7 separate regions of the Homo sapiens genome follow, and regions 2, 3, 4, 5, 6 and 7 are each linked to region 1. The links are contacts of gene promoters, found by promoter capture Hi-C in blood cells and fetal thymus (Javierre and others, 2016). All regions are on one chromosome and are shown on one strand. The core of a region is centred on a gene start or on the middle of the fragment in contact, and the rest is flanking DNA. Distances in the headings are between cores, read along the strand shown. Region 1 holds the start of ZNF548 (zinc finger protein 548). Region 2 holds the start of ZNF583 (zinc finger protein 583). Region 3 holds the start of ZNF497 (zinc finger protein 497). Region 4 overlaps ZNF8 (zinc finger protein 8). Region 5 holds the start of ZNF8 (zinc finger protein 8). Region 6 overlaps ZNF544 (zinc finger protein 544). Region 7 overlaps ZNF274 (zinc finger protein 274).

Region 1 (2,606 bases), core at 80-2,579:
AATAATGTGTACACATGGACAAAGAGTGTGGAATGACAAACATTGGAGACTCCAAACAGGTAGAAGGATGAGACGAAGATGAGTGATGAAAAATTACTTAATGGATACAATGTACATTATTCAGGCGATGGATACATTAAAAGCCCAGACTTGACCACTATGCAAATATATCCATATAACAAAACTGCACTTGACTCCTTAAATTTATGCAAACAAACAAACAAAAAAAACCCGAGACCGACCTACTCAATCTGATCCTCAGACCATTCTCTGGCCCAGTCCAAGCCCTCCATCCGTCTGGTATCGCCAACCCAATCCCCTTCCTCAGACTCCACACCTTTATGTCCACCTGTCTGTGTGACATATCCATCTTGAGACATTTGAGAATCACCATGTCCAAAATCCAACCTGTGATCTTCTCCCGGAAATCTGCTCTTTATGCTGACTTCCCCAACTCCATTCTTCCAAACGTTCAAACAGAAAACAAAAAACAAAACAAACACTTGAAACGGTTCTTCACTGCCTTTGTTCAGACATAACTGAAGCACCAGGAAAACCTACGGGCCCTATCTTTCAGGCCTATGAAGAATCTCATCACATCTCCCTCTACTGTCACTGGTCCAGCCCCAACCATAATTCTCCTGGGTCTACTGCAGTGGCCTCAGGGCCTTTTCGCGTCTCCCTGTGTCCATTCCTAACCTGGTTTTCCTAACTTGAAACTTCGAACTCTGGACCTGCCCCCTCCAACTGTCCCTCCCTTGACAACCTTCCATGGTTACTGGCTGCTCAGGTTGCCATTCCAAGCGAGAATTCACAAAACCCTCTCTTTCCCGCAGAAACAACACACACCCCTGACGCCCCAACACAGCCCACTCGGCAGCGCCTCCATGCTCTGAACCTGAGGTCCCTAACGGGAGCTCTGAGGCTGCATCAAATCGGCTGATACGGGGACCCCACACAGGAACGCCCCTCTCTTCGGGACAAGGGGCCTGACCTGCAGGGCCCCTTCAGGGGGCTTCAGCACTGGGAGGACCGGTCGGGCGGGGGAGCCTGGGACGGGACACCCACCTCAGTCAGGTTCATCAGCAAGGCCTCCGCCAGCCCAGCCAGGGAAGAGCGGGGCGGGAGCGACAAAGGCAAGACAAGGACGCCACTGTCCCCAGCGCTTGTCAGTTGACTCACTCCCGCCTCTCCGTGGTGGGAACCGAGCCGCTTCTCGCGCTTTTCCGTTCCGTCACTTCGGTGACGTCAGACAGAGCCATAGGCCGAAGTTGGTGAAACACCACACAGAACCAAAACGACCACCACCAGGAGGACGGCGGAAGTCCCGCCCTCCGACGGTGCGCACGCACGCAAACGTCCCCTTCTAAGCCTTTATTGGGTAAGTCGTGCCGCCGAGAGCTGCAGTGTCTTCTGGGTTATGAAGTTTCGACACCGCTTCCGGACTTGTCTTAGAGCGTTGATCAGTCCTTATATGGCAGATAAAGGCCCAGTGGCACTGTCAGGGGAGCTGGGAAACGGAGTCCCCGACTCCAAAGACAGGAGGGGGCTTGGCTTGCTCTTAAAGGCAACATACGGTATTTTTTTGGATTGTAGTATAGGATATTTACAGAAATGTTAGCAACTTATTACTTAAGACTCTATTAAGCACAGCTAATTCCCAATAACTACAGGTCCAAAGAGACACCCCATACCATAAAGGCAGTCTGCCTCTACTCATGCCTGCCAGCCATATTATTGCTTTTCAAATACACATACAGTTACGCTTTGGCGTCTGTTTAGTAAGCTTCAATATGTTTGGTCCAGAAGAAGAAAGAAAGACTACGCAGTTAGGGCTATGGACTGGAATTTGTAGGAAGGATGACAGGAGACGCTGAAGTAGGTTGAAAGGGTGAAGCTATGCCTCTGGATCAAAGAGAATACATCTTACCTGACTGTAGAGTCAGCGATTGTGTTCCTACGAAGGGTGCAACGCTTTTATTCTAATAATACTTACTACTTCATATCTGAGATATTTTCCATTTATTTTAAGAATCACAATCCTATCTGAAAATGAGAGTGACGACCAAAATGAGTGATTGAGGCATAAGTCACAAATCATGGAGGATTACTGGACCAGCCTAAGGGCACATCCAGAAAAATGTAAGTCACAGAAGCATCTGTGGCTGGTTTTTCCAAAGAGGTTCTTAGGAGGTTTAGTATTTATTATACATTTTCCTTAAAAAGGAAGAGGGGTTGGCAGTGAGACAAATGATTACAGACATGTGAAACTTTAGTTAGTGCCCAGTAAATCTACATTTTACATAAGATAGAGTAAACACGTGAGGGGAAAAGGGAATAAAGAAGATGTCTCAGAGAAGGATGAAGGAATGAATAATCTCATCTTCTCTCTGTTCTGTACCTTGGAAGATAAGCTAGTAGTCTTCTGAAAAGGTTGATTTCTATTTAGCCCTTAGGGAAGAAAACCTAATGATTGTAGTGTGGTAGGGGATATAATGAGGTGTGTCTGATTTCCCGTTCCTCTATAGTGGTGAATTCAGCTTCCAAAGTTATTCTAGGGTTCTCATGGTCAAGAGGGCATCCATTCAGTCAGTTAGGGGGTGCTT
Region 2 (2,606 bases), core at 45-2,544, 990 kb after region 1:
AGCGTGGTCAGCTTTTCAGGCTTAAGGCTGAGGCTCCTGTCTGTCTCTCCCTTTTCAGCTCTCGTCCCTCCCTTTCTCCATCTTTTCCCCTTTATCTCAATCTTTCTGTCTCTCCACCACAACAGCAGTCTCCCAAACCCCAGAGCACACCAGCATCTCCAAGCACCCACACAGCTTCCTGCCCACACAAATCACAGACAACAAACCACATAGTTTCTCATTCTGGCACCTCCCCTGGCAACCTATGGACATGCCCCCACATTGTAGCCCGCCCTGCTCTCACAATGGGTCATATAAGGCCATTCTCAGTCACACTGTCACACTCACTGTCGGGATGACATACAGTGCTAAGTCACACCATCTCCCTCAGTCTCACATAATCACACACACTGTCATGCACAATCTCAAACACTGTCACATACAATCTTAGTCCAACAACAAAAACTCTGTTCACATACAGTTTCACATACAGTGACACAGTCTCACACACTGTCACACAAATTCTGTCGCAGTTTCATGTGGTCCCATATCAACAGCCACACACCGTACACAACCACACATAGCCTCACACACGGTGACATGGTCTCACATACTGTCACAGTCTCATCTAATCCTACACACACGGTCAAGCTCTGTTCACAAAGTCACACACACTGTCACACAGTCTTACATTATCCCACACACACAGGTCACACACACAGTGACATGGTCTTACACACTGTTCACACGTGGTCTACACATAATGACAGTTTAACACTGTCACACATTCCCAGTCTCACACATGGTGACGTGGTCTTAAGCACATACAGTGTCACACAGTCCCACACGGTCCCATATACTGTCAAAGGCTCCCGCATACACCGGGGCAACGGTCTCATACTGTCGCACACATTCTCACACCCAGTCTCATACTGTCACACATAGTCCCACATTTGTCCCACATGGTCTCACACTGACACACATATTCACACACGGCCTCACATTCTCACACTGTCACACACGGTCTCAAATTCTCACACAGTCACACATGGTCTCACACACGATTCCACACTGTCAAACACATTGTCACACACGGTTCCTTAATGTCTCACACATTCTCACACACTGTCACACACGGTCCCACACATGGTGGCATGGCCGCTCCCGGCGTCAGCTCCATCCCGCGCTCCTCACCGCCTCCTCCCTCCAGTGGGCACCTCCTTCGGCGCGGTCCTTGGAGGCCGGGGCTGGGCCAGGGCCCGGGCCAGGGCTCGATCCTGGCCGGCGGCCGCGCTCACAAAGGCGCCGCAGCCCTAGGGCAGGCCGCAGGGGCCGCTGGGAAATGGAGTCCGGGGCCGGCGCGGCGCAGAGGATGCTGGGATGTTGGCCGAGGGCCCCGGGCGGCCGCAGATCCCGCCGCTCAGTTGCGGGTAGTTACTGCTGCGCCCCTTTCCCTAGTAAGCCCACCTCCGCTGGCCTTCAGAATCCCACCCGGACCAGCTGAGCCCTCTCAGGCCGTTCGACTGTCCGCTCCCCCACCCGTTCCACCCGTTCCACCTGCGCAGGCGCAGCTGGTTCAGGTCCCCAAAGGCTGCCAGGCCGGGGTGCCAGCGCGGTGAGGCGCACGCGCAGTGACCGCGTCCGCGCTCCAGCGCTCCGGGTGGGGCTGTGAGTCCATCGCTGAGAAAAGGGAGCTGGAGGACCAGTGTGGAGCCTGAGCCAGCTGGAGAGGGGCCCGGTAGGATGTACGTGTGATTAAGCGCTCTGGCGGCCCGGGCTTTCTCTTTCCCTTTCTGTTTCTTCTCTCTCCGCCTTGCCCTGTCTTTCATTCGCCACTTATTGAGCGCCTGCTGTATCGGGCACTGTCGTGGGCCCTGGGCACACAGCAGTGAACAAGCAGACAAAATCCCCACCTCATGGAGCAGCATTCTAATGCGGGAGGAATTCAATAGGAAAAAATTAATAATAAAGGACACTGATGCATATTGGGAAGTAATGCGTATTATCAAGAAAAGCGAAGCAGAGTATTAAGATCATTCTTTCAGTTCTTCATTCTTTCAGTTATGCCCTCTGAATCAGTGGAAAAAACGCAAGGTGCATTTTTTTCTATTATCTCAACGACAACTAATCATAACAGAAGACTTTTCTGACCAAATATAGGGGAGTTTCCCACACATCTCAAGCAAGCAATGAGTTCAGTGAGTTCTGCAGCGGGCACCAGCTGGGTGTCCTCCAGTTTAATTCCGACGCCGTCTACTTGGAGATGGGTCAGACACCATTCGCTGAGGGCTCAGTCCCCAAGCCTGCCTCCCCCTTCCCACTTCCCACTAAAGTCTAGCCTCTGGAACATCTGACTCCACCACCTTCAAATTGGGATTTTCACCACCCCCTCTTTGCGGTTCGATATTTTGCTAGAGTGGCTCACGGAACTCAGGAAACACTTATGTTTACTAGTTTATTATAAAGGATATTACAAATGATATAGATGAAGAGATGCGTAGGGCAAAGTACAGAAAAAAGGGTGTTGCACCTTCCAGTAACCTCCACATGTTCAGCTGGGTGGAAGCTCTCTAAACCCTGTCTTTTGGGAGTTTTACAGAGGCTTCATTACATAGGCATGGTTGATT
Region 3 (2,606 bases), core at 45-2,544, 970 kb before region 1:
AAAAGAGCTCGTGGAGGCCGGGTGCAGTGGCTCGGGTCTGTAATCCTAGCACTTTGGGAGGCCAAGGTGGGAGGATCACTTGAGCCCAGAAGTTCAAGACCAGCCTGGGCCATATAGCGAGACCCCGTCTCTAGCTATTCATTTATTTTAGCTTACAGCATCTGGTCTATGTTGTTTTTTGAGACGGAGTCTTGCTCTGTCACCCAGGCTGGAGTGTGCAGTGGCACGACCTCAGCTCACTGTAACTTCTGCCTCCCCGGTTCAAGCGATTCTCCTGCCTCAGCCTCCCGAGTAGCTGGGATTATAGGCACACGCCAACAAGCCTAATTTTTGTATTTTCAGTAGAGACGGGGTTTCACCATGTTGGTCAGGCTGGTCTCGAACTCCTGACCTCGTGATCTGCCCGCCTCGGCCTCCCAAAGTTCTGGGATTACAGGCGTGAGCCACCGCGCCCGGTTTATTTATTTATTTTAGCCAACAGCACTCGGTGTTCCCAGACGGTCTCCCAAGTACTAACCAGGCCCGACCCTGCTTAGCTTCTGAGATCCCGACTCAATTTTTTTTTTTTTTTTTTGAGACGGAGTCTCGTTCTGTCGCCCCAGGCTGGAGTGCAGTGTCGCGATCTCGGCTCACTGCAAGCTCCGCCTCCCAGGTTCAAGCGATTCTCCTGCCTCAGCCTCCCGAGTAGCTGGGACTACAGGCGCCCGCCACCACGCCCGGCTAATTTTTTGTATTTTTAGTAGAGACGGGGTTTCTCCGTGTTAGCCAGGATGGTCTCGATCTCCTGACCTCGTGATCCGCCCGCCTCGACCTCCCAAAGTGCTGGGATTACAGGCGTGAGTCACCGCGCCCGGCCCCCGACTCTATTTTAAAAACCGCGTGGATTCCAGCTTGGTGGGTGTTCCACAGCGCGTGGGTGTGAGACGCAGCTCAGTGGCGTCAACTCAGCAAGGTTCCAGGGTGGTAAAGACGGCCTGGGGCCGGAGGAGGACCGCCAGGGAGAAGCTACGTTGGCCCGACTTGCGTCCGCGACCCGGGCAGCCCCAGGCGCCTGTGTAGCTGTTGGGTGTGTGCCGCAGAGGCTGGCCGGGTGCAGGAAGGGGCGGAGCGCATCCATGGCAACGCAGGACGCCCGAGTAGCTTGGCTGTGGCGCCGTCCCCATGGGAACCAGAAGGCGCGCGCCCGCAGCCGCGGCATAGTTACGCAGGCGCAGTGGGGAGAAACGCGACGCCTTGGGCCGCTCTGCCGAATGCAACCGCGCCCCCAGGAGACCCGGTGCCCGCCCTCCTACCATTCCACGCGGCTCGAGCCCGCGTGCGGGCCTCTTTCAGGCCGCTCCTAGTGGACGCAGAGGCGGGCCGAGGACGGTGAGTGACGCCGACGGACACCCTCGGCCAGGCACAGATCCGCCCTCCGGCTCCAACCACTCCCGCCGCGCGGGGCAGGACGGGCCTCGGCCCTGAGCTGGGCCCTCTGGGACCACCGAGAGATAGGCCTCCGCGCCGTCCAGAGCGGCCCGGAAGTGGCCCTGCACGGGCCAGAGGCGACCGTGGTCGGGACGGAAATGGCTCCCGTTTGCTGTTCTCTCGGTGAACGCGAGCCTTATGGCGATCAGTTCTGTGGCATCGTTCCTCCTGCTCGTTTATTCTTTCACTCATTCACTCATGCCCTGCCGCGCCATCATTTCTTCCCACATTCATTTATTCGTTCATCAGTCCCCAGCCCCGGGTAGTTTCGGAGCTCACCAGGCTGGGCTCGCCTCCCAGCCTCCGGAGCTGCCCGCACAGGCCTCGCGCCACCTGGCCGCAGCTTCCTCCCCTTTATCCACTCCGTATTTGTTTGTCCAGCCTAGGCCTTGGGGGTTGTGGGGGAGACACAAGTACCCGTGACTGGTCGGACAAGTGCCCGTTGTTGGGGGCGTGGGCGCTGGGACTGACGCGGGAGGTGGCTCTGATCATGTCGAGGTGAGGAGGAGGCGTTGAGGCTCAGAAAGGGCACGCAGCGTGGACGTGAGGACGTCGGGGAGGCTGGAGCAGTGAGGCCGACAGGAAGGACCTTACGGGGCTCACATGCTATCCCACGACGAGGACGGACTCAGGACGGCAGCCCTGATAGATGCGGCTGGGGGCTGGCGGGTCGGGGTCGCACACCACAGGATGGAGGGGCAGCGGTGCCTGGCTCCGCCTTAAGAAACATGGGCCCTTGGGGGACCCGGATTTCTGATACTTCAATACACAAATATGGATTTTTATTGAAATCAGATGTCGTTTTTTTAAAATTTAACTTTTGATTTGAGGTAATTATAAATTCACATGCAGTAACAAGTAATGCATACCCTATGTACGCTTTACCCAATTCCCCTAAAGGTGGCATCTTGAAAAACTAGAGGCCAGGTGCGGTGGCTCATGTCTGTAATCCCAGCACTTTGGGAGGCCAAGGCGGGTGGATCCCTTGAGCTCAGGAGTTAAAGACCAGCCTGAGCAACATGGTGAAACCCCATCTGTACTGAAAACACAAAAATTAGGCGGGTGTGGAGGCTGGTGCCTGTAATCCCAGCTACTCGGGAGTCTCAGGCAGGAGAATCGCTTGTACCCAGGAGGCGGAG
Region 4 (2,606 bases), core at 38-2,537, 910 kb before region 1:
CTTCTTTACATAAATGGAAACATACTCTACAGTTTGACACCTTGCTTTTATCTACTTAACTATCTTAGAGCTCTTTCTCACATTAGTATAGTTTGAGGATCCCTAATTCAAAAATCTGAAATCTGAAACACTTCTGGTCCTGAGCATTTTGGATAAGGGATACTCAACCTGTATATAAAGAGTCTTCATTTTTAAGGCTATGATCTCCATTCCACCATAAATGACTTAGCCAGTTCCCCATGGTGGACATGGAGGGTTGTTTCCAAATTCTGACTTTTAAAATCAATAGCATAATGAAAACCATGTACAAACAGTCTGCACACATACAAATATATGTGTAGGATTTATTCCCAGCAAGTTTGCTTAGACAAAGGGTTTATGTATGTGTAATTTAGATAGTGGCTGATAAACTGCCCTCCACAGAAGTTGTATCAATTCACATTCCCACTGTAAATGTATAAGAACCCCTCCAATGCCCCCTTTGAGAAAACTCAAGGCTGGTAAAATACTGGGTGGAGAGCACATTGTTACAATCCTCCTGAAAGTTAATTTAAAGAGCTACATGAAATTCATAGAGAAAATCCTCAAAATAGAGTAAGCACATGTTACAAGACAACTAGAAGGGATTCCAAATTTCTAAACACAAGATAACTATACACATATATATTCCTCTGTGTGTATGTAAAATTTAGTGTACACTATGTATGTGTAGACACACGTGTATATTTTAAGAAAAAGCTGCAAGGAAAATTAGTAAAATCCTAATGGTAAGGACCATCTATGGATGGCTAAAGTATGAGGAATTTTACACAAGTTTTCATTTTTTTTTTACTTTTATGCATTTTCCAAGTTTTGCTACAAAGAACTCGCATTACTTTTATGAACAGAAAAAAACATGTCTTTTCCCTAGTTAACAGTAATTTCCACGGAGGAGTTTCTTATCTGTTTCAAAATATCTACAAGGAAATCAGTAGGAATATCATGCTTAGAAAATGTGAACTGAAATGAGAAACAGAAAATATGCAAAGATCTGAAACACTTCTGGTCCCAAGCATTTCGATAAGGAATATTCAAGCTGTATATAGAGTCTTCATTTTTAATGAATTTTTATGATCACCATTCCACCATAAATGACTTAGCCAGTTCCCCATGGTGGACATGGAGGTTCTTTCCAAATTTTTACTTTTAAAATCAATAGCATAATGAAAACCATGTAGCCTGCACACATATAAATATATATGTAGGATTCATTCCCAGCAGGTTTGGTGAGACAAAGGGTTTATGTATTTGTAATTTAGTGACTGATAAACTGCCCTTCATAGAAGATGTATAAGAACCTTCCCACACCCCCTTTGAGAACTCAAGGCTTGTTGAGTTCCAGTTGATTGCTTCATCCCAGCTTACCACCCTGTGGGGCTGCTATAACCTCAGCCAACCCCATGCCCCCTCAGAGAAGTATCAACTGTGACCCCTTCAGGACTGGCCATTTTGGGGGCCAAGGTGGAGGGAATGAGGCAATCACAGGCCTGACTTCCAGAGCTGTCTAGAACCATGCTGTCATTTTTGGTCCCACTGCTTCAGAGGGGAGGAGCTTTCCTGTCTGGATTCCCAAGCCTGTGCCCCAAACTGCTGGTGGAGCAGAAAGGAGGAATGATCCAGAATAGGGTTTTGGTACCAGACTGTTTGGTTCACACTCTGGCTGGGCCACTTGGTAGCACATTACTTCTCCTCTTAGGGCCATCCTGCACTGTTGGTGGCAGTGGGGATGAAGTAAGCAAATCCGAAATGTTTACATGGCAAAATCAACAGGACCTCTAACTCCATGGAGTGGGGAAGGGGAGAGGTCAAGAAGACTGGTTTTCTGGCTTCCATGATGGGATGGCAAGTGGAAACAGCCTCCAGGAAAGGGATCAGGGAAGCAGAGACTAGTCTGGGTGGAAAATGAGTTTTGTTTGGGGTAGGCTGGGTTTGGGGAGCTTTCGGCACACCTCGGGGAGTTGCCCAGTAGCACACAGCAGTTGTTTGGGTCTGAAGCCCAAATCTCAGAAGCACCAGACTGATTTGGTGGTGAGCAGCACAAAGCTAGGGATGTAGATGACACCTGGGGAGGGCGTGGAGCACAAGGTGGACTCTAGGACCCCAGCATTTAGGAAGGGTGACGGGAGGTTGAGAAGTCCCTGAAGAGTTAGAAGGAACCCCACAATGCAAGGAGATGGAGCTCTGCAAAGAGGTTAGCAGGCTTCACAGTCCTGGGGATGAAGAGAGACGACACCAGAGGTAGTACCTTGGACAGTGGTTGCAGTGGGTTCTGTGAAGCAGTGGGGGCGGACAGCAGGTCTGAGGTGTGAGCTGCCACCAAGGGAATAGGGAGCACAAGCGATTCTCCCAAGAGCTTGAAGGAGAAAAGCAGCAGATACGGCTAGCTGCCTCCATCATCCACCAAGGGAATAGGGAGCACAAGCAATTCTCCCAAGAGCTTGAAGAGAAAAGCAGCAGCTACGGCTAGCTGCCTCCATCATCCACTTCCCAGGACTTTTCTCTCCCACCTGTCTCCACCACAGAGGTTAGAAAGGTAAATACGAGGTTTCTAAGCCCCGTTGTTATTA
Region 5 (2,606 bases), core at 56-2,555, 890 kb before region 1:
TCCAGACTCAGGTCTCAGGTGACAACAGCTATGCTGACATCTTCACTGTAACTTCATGGGCCTGAACCAGAACCACCAGCTAGGACATTCCATTACTCCTGTCAGAACTCGTGAGATATTTATTGTTGTTCCAGGTCACGAAGTTTTGAGTTACACAGCAACAGGTAACTAATACACTTTCTCTCAAGCCTTTCTTACGACTCATTCCTTGTCCCCCATCCACAGCAAGAACAAAATAAAACGTGGTAGCATTTCATGCAAATTTGGAGCAACACACATCTGAAAACCTGCAACCTAAGATTATCAAGTCTCACTTTGTGTACCAAATCTGAAATAATGCAAATCCCCATGAACAAACCAACGACAAAAAATAAAAAAAAGTATAATTTCAAAGTTGCAGAGCTTGAGGAAGGATAATTATTGTTGTTTCCTGCCACGCGAGGCAGCTTTATGGAGAACACAGGCCGCAACCACTTTGTCTAGAAAGTGGAGCTCTGATGGCCAGATGGCCCTGCAAACACTGACCGCCCTGCACTGCAGTTCTCCCACAGTCTCGCAGGGGACGACCCTGGTGGTCACTCTCATCACACTCAGTGCGTGGTGACCCATCATTGCCCCCAAGAGGTTGTGCCCAAGCCCCAGGGCAGGGGCTCCGCGGTGCTGGGGTCCCGGTGGGTGTCCGCTGACTCCACGCGTTAAAGCATCTCTATTCGATGATTCTTGCCATCTGGGCACCCGGCCAACGCTACAATTACTGTTATCAGTCAACACGAGGACAGACCTTCCTGGAATGGGCAAGGGTGTCGGCGGGGCGGAGCAGAACGCAGGAGATGGGCCTGCTCGATTCTCTCGGGAATGACCGACCCCAGCCCTGGGGAGGACAGAGCCGCGTGGAGCATGCGCATTCGGGGGCCAGGCGCCTGGTTGGAATCCCGGCCCCCTCTCTGACCAGCCAGGACGGTCACCACGCCCCGACCCGCGTCTGAGTTTCCCCACGTGTCAAGGGCATTAACAGCGGTGCCGCTCTCATCGCGCCGCGAGGTGAAAGGGTCAGTCTGCGCGGGAGACGCTTGCCCGGAGCCCGCCGCCGTCGTTATTGTTGTTATTGTTACCTGAAGCCGGGCCGCCGGCGGCCCCACAGACATCACTCCCGCTACCCCTTCGTCCTCGGGGTCCATGCTGGATCGCCCAGTGAAGGACAGCGCCTGAGGTGATCCCCAGACCAGAGAGGCACTCCAGCCAAAGGGACCACCCGACTCGCCGAACGCCGGACAATGGCGGCCGCACCGGCGACGCGGCGACTACAACTCCCAGTAGGCCGTGCGGCGAACCACAGCCCTCGGCCAATGGGAGTCTCCGCTGGTCTGGCCTTCGACCAATGGAAGCATTATGGCCGATGGCCAATGGGAGCCCCCACCCGCTGGCCTCTGGCCAATGGGAGCACTCAGCTAAGGCTGGTGGGGGCGGTGTTGCTCGGGGCTGCGATGCCCCTTAGGTTGCGGGCAACCAGAGGCCTCACTCGTGGGCAGGAAGCAAGGGCGGACCCCGAGAGATGACTGATTGTGGGGGTGGGGACCGTCTGCTCCTCCTAATGGCTGGGGACCGTGCACGTCTGCGCGGGCCGGACCTGCTCTTCTCGGGAACTTGCGCGGGAGGAGGCCCGGAGCTGCGCCGCTTTACCCTCTGCTCCCCGGTGCCTAAAACGCACACGCATCAAAGTCACAGGACGAGTTAGAGGTTTGTTCATATAAAAGACTTTGGGCTTAGCGGCTGGAAGCGGGGAGGCTGGGAGCGGTGGTTGTGTTACAGGAAAGGGGTCCGATTCAGACCCCAAGGGAGGGTTCTTGGATCTCGCGCAAGAAAAAATTCAGGGCGAGTCCGCAGTGCAAAGTAAAAGCAAGTTTGTTGAGAAAGTAAAGTTGTGAAACAGCTACCCCATAGACAGTAGGACGTTCCTGAAAGTAAGAGGAACGTATGCACCCTAGGTACAATGCTTGTGTATATTTGGGCTAAAAATAGATTTTGGGGAGATGTGCTCTGCTACAAGGGTTTGTGAAAAAGGATTAATTTTCTTACTGTATTTTTCAAGAATCGATATTATTTTTAAAGCAAAATTAGGAATGCCTTTGTTCTCTAGATACCGGGATATCTGGACACTCCCAAGTCTGGGTCTGTTTTAGTACCCATTATTAATTTGTTCCCTTAACCGTAAACATCTAGAGGTTAGGAATACCTACTTTTCTGGGAATGCAGCCCAGCCTCATTTTCCTAGCCCTCACTCAAAATGGAGTCGCTCTGGGTCGAATGCCTCTGACAGCCCTATTGCTTCTCCCTGTGGGTGTTCACTTTGTGATGTGTCTTTTTCTGTGGGTCTGTTGTAGTCCATTAAAATGTTTATTAAAGGTCGGGCGCGGTGGCTAACGCCTATAATCCCAGCACTTTGGGAAGTCGAGGCGGGTGGATCACGATGTCAGGAGCTCGAGACCAACCTGGCCAATATGGTGAAACCCCGTCTCTACTAAAAATACAAAAATTAGCCCGGCGTGGTGGCGGGCACCTGTAGTCCCAGCTTCTCGGGAGGCTGAGGCAGGAGAATCGCTTGAACC
Region 6 (2,606 bases), core at 107-2,606, 840 kb before region 1:
GAGAAACCCTGTCTATACTAAAAAAAAAAAAAATTAGCTGGGCGTGGCGGCACACATCTGTAATCCCAGTAACTTGGGAGGCTGAGGCACAAGAATCGCTTGAACCCAGGAGGCGGAGACTGCAGTGAGCCGAGGTCATGCCACCATTCCAGCCTAGGTGACAGAGCAAGACCTTGTCTCAAGAAAAAAACAAAACAAAACAAAAAACACACCAGGACTATTTTTTGAACTTGACAAAATATTTAAGCTTCTTTAATGAAAATAGAGACCTACGAAAAAGAGAGGTGACAGTCACAAACAGATAGTTCACAATAAAATAAACTACATGGCTGAAAAATGTACAAAGCTGCTCTGTATTAAAGACATATAATCCCAGCACTTTGTGAGGCCAAGGCAGGAGGCTCTCTTGAGGCTAGAAGTTCGAGACAAGCCTGGGCAACATGTGAGACCCCATTTATAAAAAAATAAATAATAAAGACATGAATTAAAACACACCGGGGCCTATGATCTCAGCTTCCTTCCCTAGCAAATGCCCCAGGCCTTCCTACCTTTCAAAATCCACTGACCACTCAGGCTGTACTTCCTACAGGCCAGGCACTGTACCCTGTCCTCTGCCTGAATTCATGCATTTGATCTTCCTTGTAACCCCACAAAGACAATTAACAGAATTTACCCTGCTTTCTAAATGAGGAAACCAAGGCAGAAAGAACTTGAGTAAAATTTAACTGAGGCCTCGTGGCTGGGGAGTGAGAAGGTGGGAGCTCCATAGCTCATGGCCCTAAGCACACTACCACTCAGGCTCCCAGCCTCCCCGTCTGGTACACCCCACCCCAGCCCAGCCCAATGCCCCTGTTCTTTTTCTTAACATCCTTGGCCTGAGGCCCACCTCTTGGCCTCTCTGATCTGTTTGTTCTGTGCAATCTGCCTATGCCCTTGACTGCCCTCTCTGCCCAACCCTGCTAGTTTCTGAGTTCTGGGTGGTATAGGAGTTCAGGAACACCAGTATCCACTCAGTCACTATCCCCTTACAGCTGCGAGCTCATGCTCTCACACCCTACTTCAGTCCCCTCCCACCACTGTCCTCTCTGTGCAGACAAATCGGCCTTTTAATTCACTCCAAGGGATGACTCTGGACTCTTTCAACCTCCTGGCACACAAACTCCTGCAGGCCTGCACTCATTAGTAGCTCCCTTCAAATTCTGAGCTGAGATGTCTTCTCCCTGGTCAAGATGAATCCATATCCCAGTGCCCCACCCCCTGCCTCTTCTCCTCTCAGGTGAGGCCTGAACAGAGTGACCAACACTCTCAGTTTCCCCCTCCTCATCTTGCCCATCCTGCTCTGCTCTCTCACTCCCAAACACACACACAAACACAAATGTAGACCACATCCAAGAGGTCTGCCCAATATCTTATGTGTTACTATCTTGTCCTGATGCTCCTGGCCTTCCCTGGGGAATCTCTCACTGCCTGTGTCCATCTTTGCTCTCTAACCCTGTCCTTCCTTGTCTGGAGGCATCCAAGGGCAACGGCTGAGAACACTCACTTTGCAACCTGCTGTCAAAGTACTGGCTCCATTACCTGCCACTGTAGGACTCTGAACGGGTCTCTTTAACCTCTCCAGGCCTCAGTTTCCTCATCCGTAGACATCTGGAAAAACAGCAAGACCTGCCTTGTGAGGATGCTAAAAGAATTAATTGAGTTGCATTTACAGAGCTTAACATTGTGTTAACCTGCAAAAGGGGCACAACACATGTATTCATAGTGATTATACTTGGACATAAAATTCCCCATCTGTTCCTCATACTGGACCTGTATGGTGGCTGATCTGGCAGAAGTCCCTCTGGCTGCAGGGCTGGGGAGGGAGTTGCTTTCTCTTTCCTTTTCCAGTTTTCTCCTTCCCTGCTTGTGGGGTGACGTTTCCAATCTGCTCCAGGTTACGTGTCCAGCCCAAACCTCCTGGGCTTCCTGCCACTGCCATTCCCTCCTCCACATTCAGCCATGTCACCCACATGCTCCTCAACTCCCATGCAGAGACTGACCAGGCATACCACATCTTCCTTGCACTGTGACTTCTACCCTGGCTCCACGCTGGAAACAGAAACACAGTCTTCCTCCACTCCTTCCTGTCTTTTGGCATCCCTCCTTACACGGAGTCATTTCCACAATCAGATGTTTCCCTACTCCCTTAGACTCTTGAAATCCAACCCCATGCCTTCCTCATTAGCACTGCCTTGTACGGTCCCCATCAAATATCACCCAACACAAATGGAACCCCGATCCCTAACTTACAGGCGTTACATACACATCCCATCCTGTTCACCTCTGTAGTCTCTCTATGGGGTGCACCAGCATCGCTTAACCAGTGCAGGCCCCCAACACCCCAGTTACCCCTGCCCTGCGTGGACTGGCCTTAATCTTCTGTTCACTTGGAAAATACACATGTTCTCTGCAAGGTTCAAGCTTCACGTACCATTGGAAGAAAATGTGTCCACGTCTGGAGCTGGGATGACCTCTGGGGTCCAATAGGCGTCACCTGCCTGGTGCCGCTGTGCCAGGAGGCTCTTGGCTGCCACCTGTGGATAAGCCGCAGAAGATGAGTTGAGGGA
Region 7 (2,606 bases), core at 64-2,563, 800 kb before region 1:
GAAGCTGACTTGTCTGTATTATAACACCCCCAAAATGTGTATATATATTCACATACATTCACGTAAGCCTATATAAGAAAGTCTGGCTGGAAATACACACCAGGGTTACCAGTGATTATGAGGGGAGGGCAGTAGACAATGCGTGTAACAGACTAAGGGAGCCCCTACTGTCAACACAAGTATCACCTGCCACCAGCAACAGGTTCACTTTCAACCAAGTAGGACACTGCTGACTGTGGAGCCAGAGAAAAACTTCGAGTTTGGTTCTGCAACTGCTCATCACAGCATCCCACCTGGGGTATCCCAATGTCTACTGCTTTTCCAAGATACTGGTCCCTGACTCATCAGTTGGCCCCTTCCCTGTGGGGGCTTCCCATGTCTGGTTCTCACCTGGAATGGTGTCTTGAGGAATTCCTCTCTCCACTGGCCAGAAATCTTCTGCCTCCTCTAACTGAGATACCACATCTGGTTTGGAAAGCTGATGTTCTGCTCAAAGGAAAAGAGACAGGGCTTGTGGGGGTCTGTGTTCAGGAGAAAATGCTATCCTACTGCAGCACAAGCCGTCTCCAGCTTCTCCCCTGCTAAGGCACATGACTTCTGGCCTAGAGCAGTGAACACAACTCCATCCATCCCTGTTGTTGGCTTTCCTAGACTCCTTTGCCAAGCAGCTAAGGGGTCCAGTTCTGGTCAGCCAGACACAAAGGGAGATCGGTCAGCTGGGAAAGCTTTTGCTTTCTGGTTAAACATGACAGCTGTGAAAGGGCTACCCCTTCTCCTTGTTTCTGCCTTGAACACAGATGCAATGCTTGGAGCCACAGCTGTGCAATGACTAGGGGGAACATGGAAAGGTTCACAATAACCAGAGTTTGAAGGGACAGGCTTTTTTTTTTTTTTTTTGAGACGGAGTCTTGCTCAGTTGCCCAAGCTGGAGTGCTGTGATCTGATCTCAGCTCACTGCAATCTCCTCCACCTCCCATGTTCAAGCAGTTCTCCTGGCTCAGCCTCCTGAGTAGCTGGGGTGCTCGGCTAATTTTTGTATTTTTAGTAAAGACAGGGTTTCATCATGTTGGTCAGGTTGGTCTAGAACTCCTGACCTCAACTGATCTGCCTGCCTCAGCCTCCCAAAGTGCCAGGATTACAGGCGTAAGCTACCGTGCCTGGCAGGGACAGGCTCTTTGATGCTACTCCTAAGCTGTTGGGACACTGGCATCGCATTGTCTGGAATTTCTGTGGAGTTTCTTTTTTTTTTTTTTTTTAATAGAGACACGGTCTATGTTGCCCATGCTGGTCTCAAACTCCTGGGCTCAAGCAATCCTCCTGCTTCAGTCTCCTAAAGTGAGCCACCATGCCTGGCCGGAACTCTTGTTGCAAGAACAATAAGCATCCACTACTGCAGCTGAAAACATCCCTGACAGACCCATCTCCCTGGTATTCAGGGAGGGATGGACTAGGCAATGATTCAGAAGTCATACTGAAAAGCTGCCCTTTTCCTACTGGTGCCCCTGCAGTGTGAGCCCAAGCAGACACATACTTCAGAGGTGCTACATTTGTGCTACAAAGCACAGATCCTTCTTGACCTGGAGGCCAGCCTTACCCACTGAGACCAGGTTCCTGTAGTTCTCCAGCATCACTTCCCTGTACAGGGACTTCTGTTTGAGGTCCAGCAGTCCCCACTCTTCCGGGGTAAAACCCAGTGTTACATCTTCAAAGGTCACTGGTTCCTAAAAATCCAGATTCTTGTTCAGCCACAGGCCATCCGCATCCACGACAAAAGAAAGACAGGGGAGGCTGACCAGGCCAGTGAAAGCACAGAATGGTCTACAAGATGACCCAAGGGCATTTTGGGAGTCTCATCCTGAGTTCCTGTCTTTGTCTGAAACCCCAAGCAAACCCAAGCTTGACTCTATTCAGGTTACAATAAGGAGAGCAACACATGAGATCTCTGTAGCATATGAAAATCTGTCCATTTTATTTATTTATTTATTTATTTAATTTATTTATTTATTGTTTTGAGACAGAGTCTCACTCTGTCTCCTAGTGGAGTGCAGTGGCGCAATCTTGGCTCACTGCAGCCTCCACCTCCCAGGTTCAAGCGATTCTCCTGCCTCAGCCTCCTGAGTAGCTGGGATTACAGGCGCATACCACCATGCCCGGCTAATTTTTGTATTTTTAGTAGAGATGGGGTTTCACCATGTTGGTCAAGCTGGTCTCGAACTCCTGACCTTGTGATCTGCCTGCCTCGGCCTCCCAAAGTGCTGGGATTACACATGTGAGCCACCGCACCCGGCCCTATTTTTCTTTTCTTTTTTTTTTGAGACGGAGTCTCTCTCTGTCGCCCAGGCTGGAGTGCAGTGGCGCCATCTCGGCTCACTGCAAGCTCCGCCTCCCCGGTTCACGCCATTCTCCTGCCTCAGCCTCCCGAGTAGCTGGGACTACAGGCGCCCGCCACCACGCCCGGCTAATTTTTTGTATTTTTTTAAGTAGAGACGGGGTTTCACTATGTTAGCCAGGATGGTCTCAATCTCCTGACCTCGTGATCCACCTGCCTCGGCCTCCCAAAGTGCTGGGATTACAGACGTGAGCCACCGCGCCCGGCCCCCTATTTC

Evidence for each region. Contacts are between HindIII fragments. The CHiCAGO score rates a contact against its expected background, and 5 or more counts as called.
Region 2: the fragment with the promoter of ZNF583 here is called in contact with the fragment with the promoter of ZNF548 in region 1 in 2 of 17 cell types (total CD8 T cells and naive CD4 T cells); the score reaches 5.4 in total CD8 T cells.
Region 3: a contact is called between the fragment with the promoter of ZNF497 here and the fragment with the promoter of ZNF548 in region 1, in 5 of 17 cell types (non-activated CD4 T cells, naive CD4 T cells, naive CD8 T cells and 2 more). The highest score is 10.3, in non-activated CD4 T cells.
Region 4: a fragment that was not itself captured here is called in contact with the fragment with the promoter of ZNF548 in region 1 in 1 of 17 cell types (total B cells); the score reaches 5.7 in total B cells.
Region 5: a contact is called between the fragment with the promoter of ZNF8 here and the fragment with the promoter of ZNF548 in region 1, in 1 of 17 cell types (neutrophils). The highest score is 6.5, in neutrophils.
Region 6: a contact is called between a fragment that was not itself captured here and the fragment with the promoter of ZNF548 in region 1, in 2 of 17 cell types (total B cells and naive CD8 T cells). The highest score is 7.7, in total B cells.
Region 7: a fragment that was not itself captured here is called in contact with the fragment with the promoter of ZNF548 in region 1 in 6 of 17 cell types (naive CD8 T cells, naive CD4 T cells, non-activated CD4 T cells and 3 more); the score reaches 6.5 in naive CD8 T cells.

What each region holds. Positions count from the first base shown.
Region 1 is chr19:57,388,577-57,391,182 of GRCh38, reverse strand. ZNF548 (zinc finger protein 548) reads right to left here and starts at 1,329. Exons shown (of 4, transcript NM_001172773.2): 1 at 1,069-1,329. The coding sequence starts at 1,083. RefSeq lists enhancers at 1,072-1,551, 1,692-1,771. The HindIII fragment of the contact is 17,908 bases long and covers 1-1,788 here.
Region 2 is chr19:56,403,020-56,405,625 of GRCh38, reverse strand. ZNF583 (zinc finger protein 583) reads right to left here and starts at 1,294. Exons shown (of 5, transcript NM_152478.3): 1 at 1,174-1,294. RefSeq lists a silencer at 1,061-1,270 and an enhancer at 1,731-1,870. The HindIII fragment of the contact is 8,045 bases long and covers 1-2,606 here.
Region 3 is chr19:58,361,439-58,364,044 of GRCh38, reverse strand. ZNF497 (zinc finger protein 497) reads left to right here and starts at 1,294. Exons shown (of 3, transcript NM_198458.3): 1 at 1,294-1,368. ZNF497-AS1 (ZNF497 antisense RNA 1) reads right to left here and starts at 1,419. Exons shown (of 3, transcript NR_136527.1): 1 at 1,293-1,419. It also overlaps the pseudogene RNA5SP473. RefSeq lists enhancers at 1,600-1,729, 1,459-2,007. The HindIII fragment of the contact is 6,825 bases long and covers 1-2,606 here.
Region 4 is chr19:58,300,516-58,303,121 of GRCh38, reverse strand. It overlaps ZNF8 (zinc finger protein 8), which reads right to left. Exons shown (of 4, transcript NM_021089.3): 4 at 331-2,606. All of the region lies in intron 4 of ZNF8-ERVK3-1 (ZNF8-ERVK3-1 readthrough (NMD candidate)), which reads right to left. Among named protein-coding and RNA genes, the nearest start is that of ERVK3-1, 3.6 kb to the left of the region's middle. The HindIII fragment of the contact is 9,060 bases long and covers 1-2,606 here.
Region 5 is chr19:58,277,654-58,280,259 of GRCh38, reverse strand. ZNF8 (zinc finger protein 8) reads right to left here and starts at 1,305. Exons shown (of 4, transcript NM_021089.3): 1 at 1,113-1,305. The coding sequence starts at 1,178. ZNF8-DT (ZNF8 divergent transcript) reads left to right here and starts at 1,518. Exons shown (of 3, transcript NR_187495.1): 1 at 1,518-1,737. ZNF8-ERVK3-1 (ZNF8-ERVK3-1 readthrough (NMD candidate)) reads right to left here and starts at 1,294. Exons shown (of 7, transcript NR_144447.1): 1 at 1-1,294. RefSeq lists enhancers at 710-759, 1,180-1,229. The HindIII fragment of the contact is 22,069 bases long and covers 1-2,606 here.
Region 6 is chr19:58,229,435-58,232,040 of GRCh38, reverse strand. ZNF544 (zinc finger protein 544) reads right to left here. Exons shown (of 7, transcript NM_014480.4): 2 at 2,471-2,573; 3 at 1,579-1,647. Among named protein-coding and RNA genes, the nearest start is that of ZNF544, 1.8 kb to the right of the region's middle. RefSeq lists an enhancer at 2,425-2,606. The HindIII fragment of the contact is 2,213 bases long and covers 250-2,462 here.
Region 7 is chr19:58,184,827-58,187,432 of GRCh38, reverse strand. ZNF274 (zinc finger protein 274) reads right to left here. Exons shown (of 8, transcript NM_133502.3): 3 at 1,595-1,721; 4 at 391-486. Among named protein-coding and RNA genes, the nearest start is that of ZNF274, 3.1 kb to the right of the region's middle. The HindIII fragment of the contact is 1,171 bases long and covers 728-1,898 here.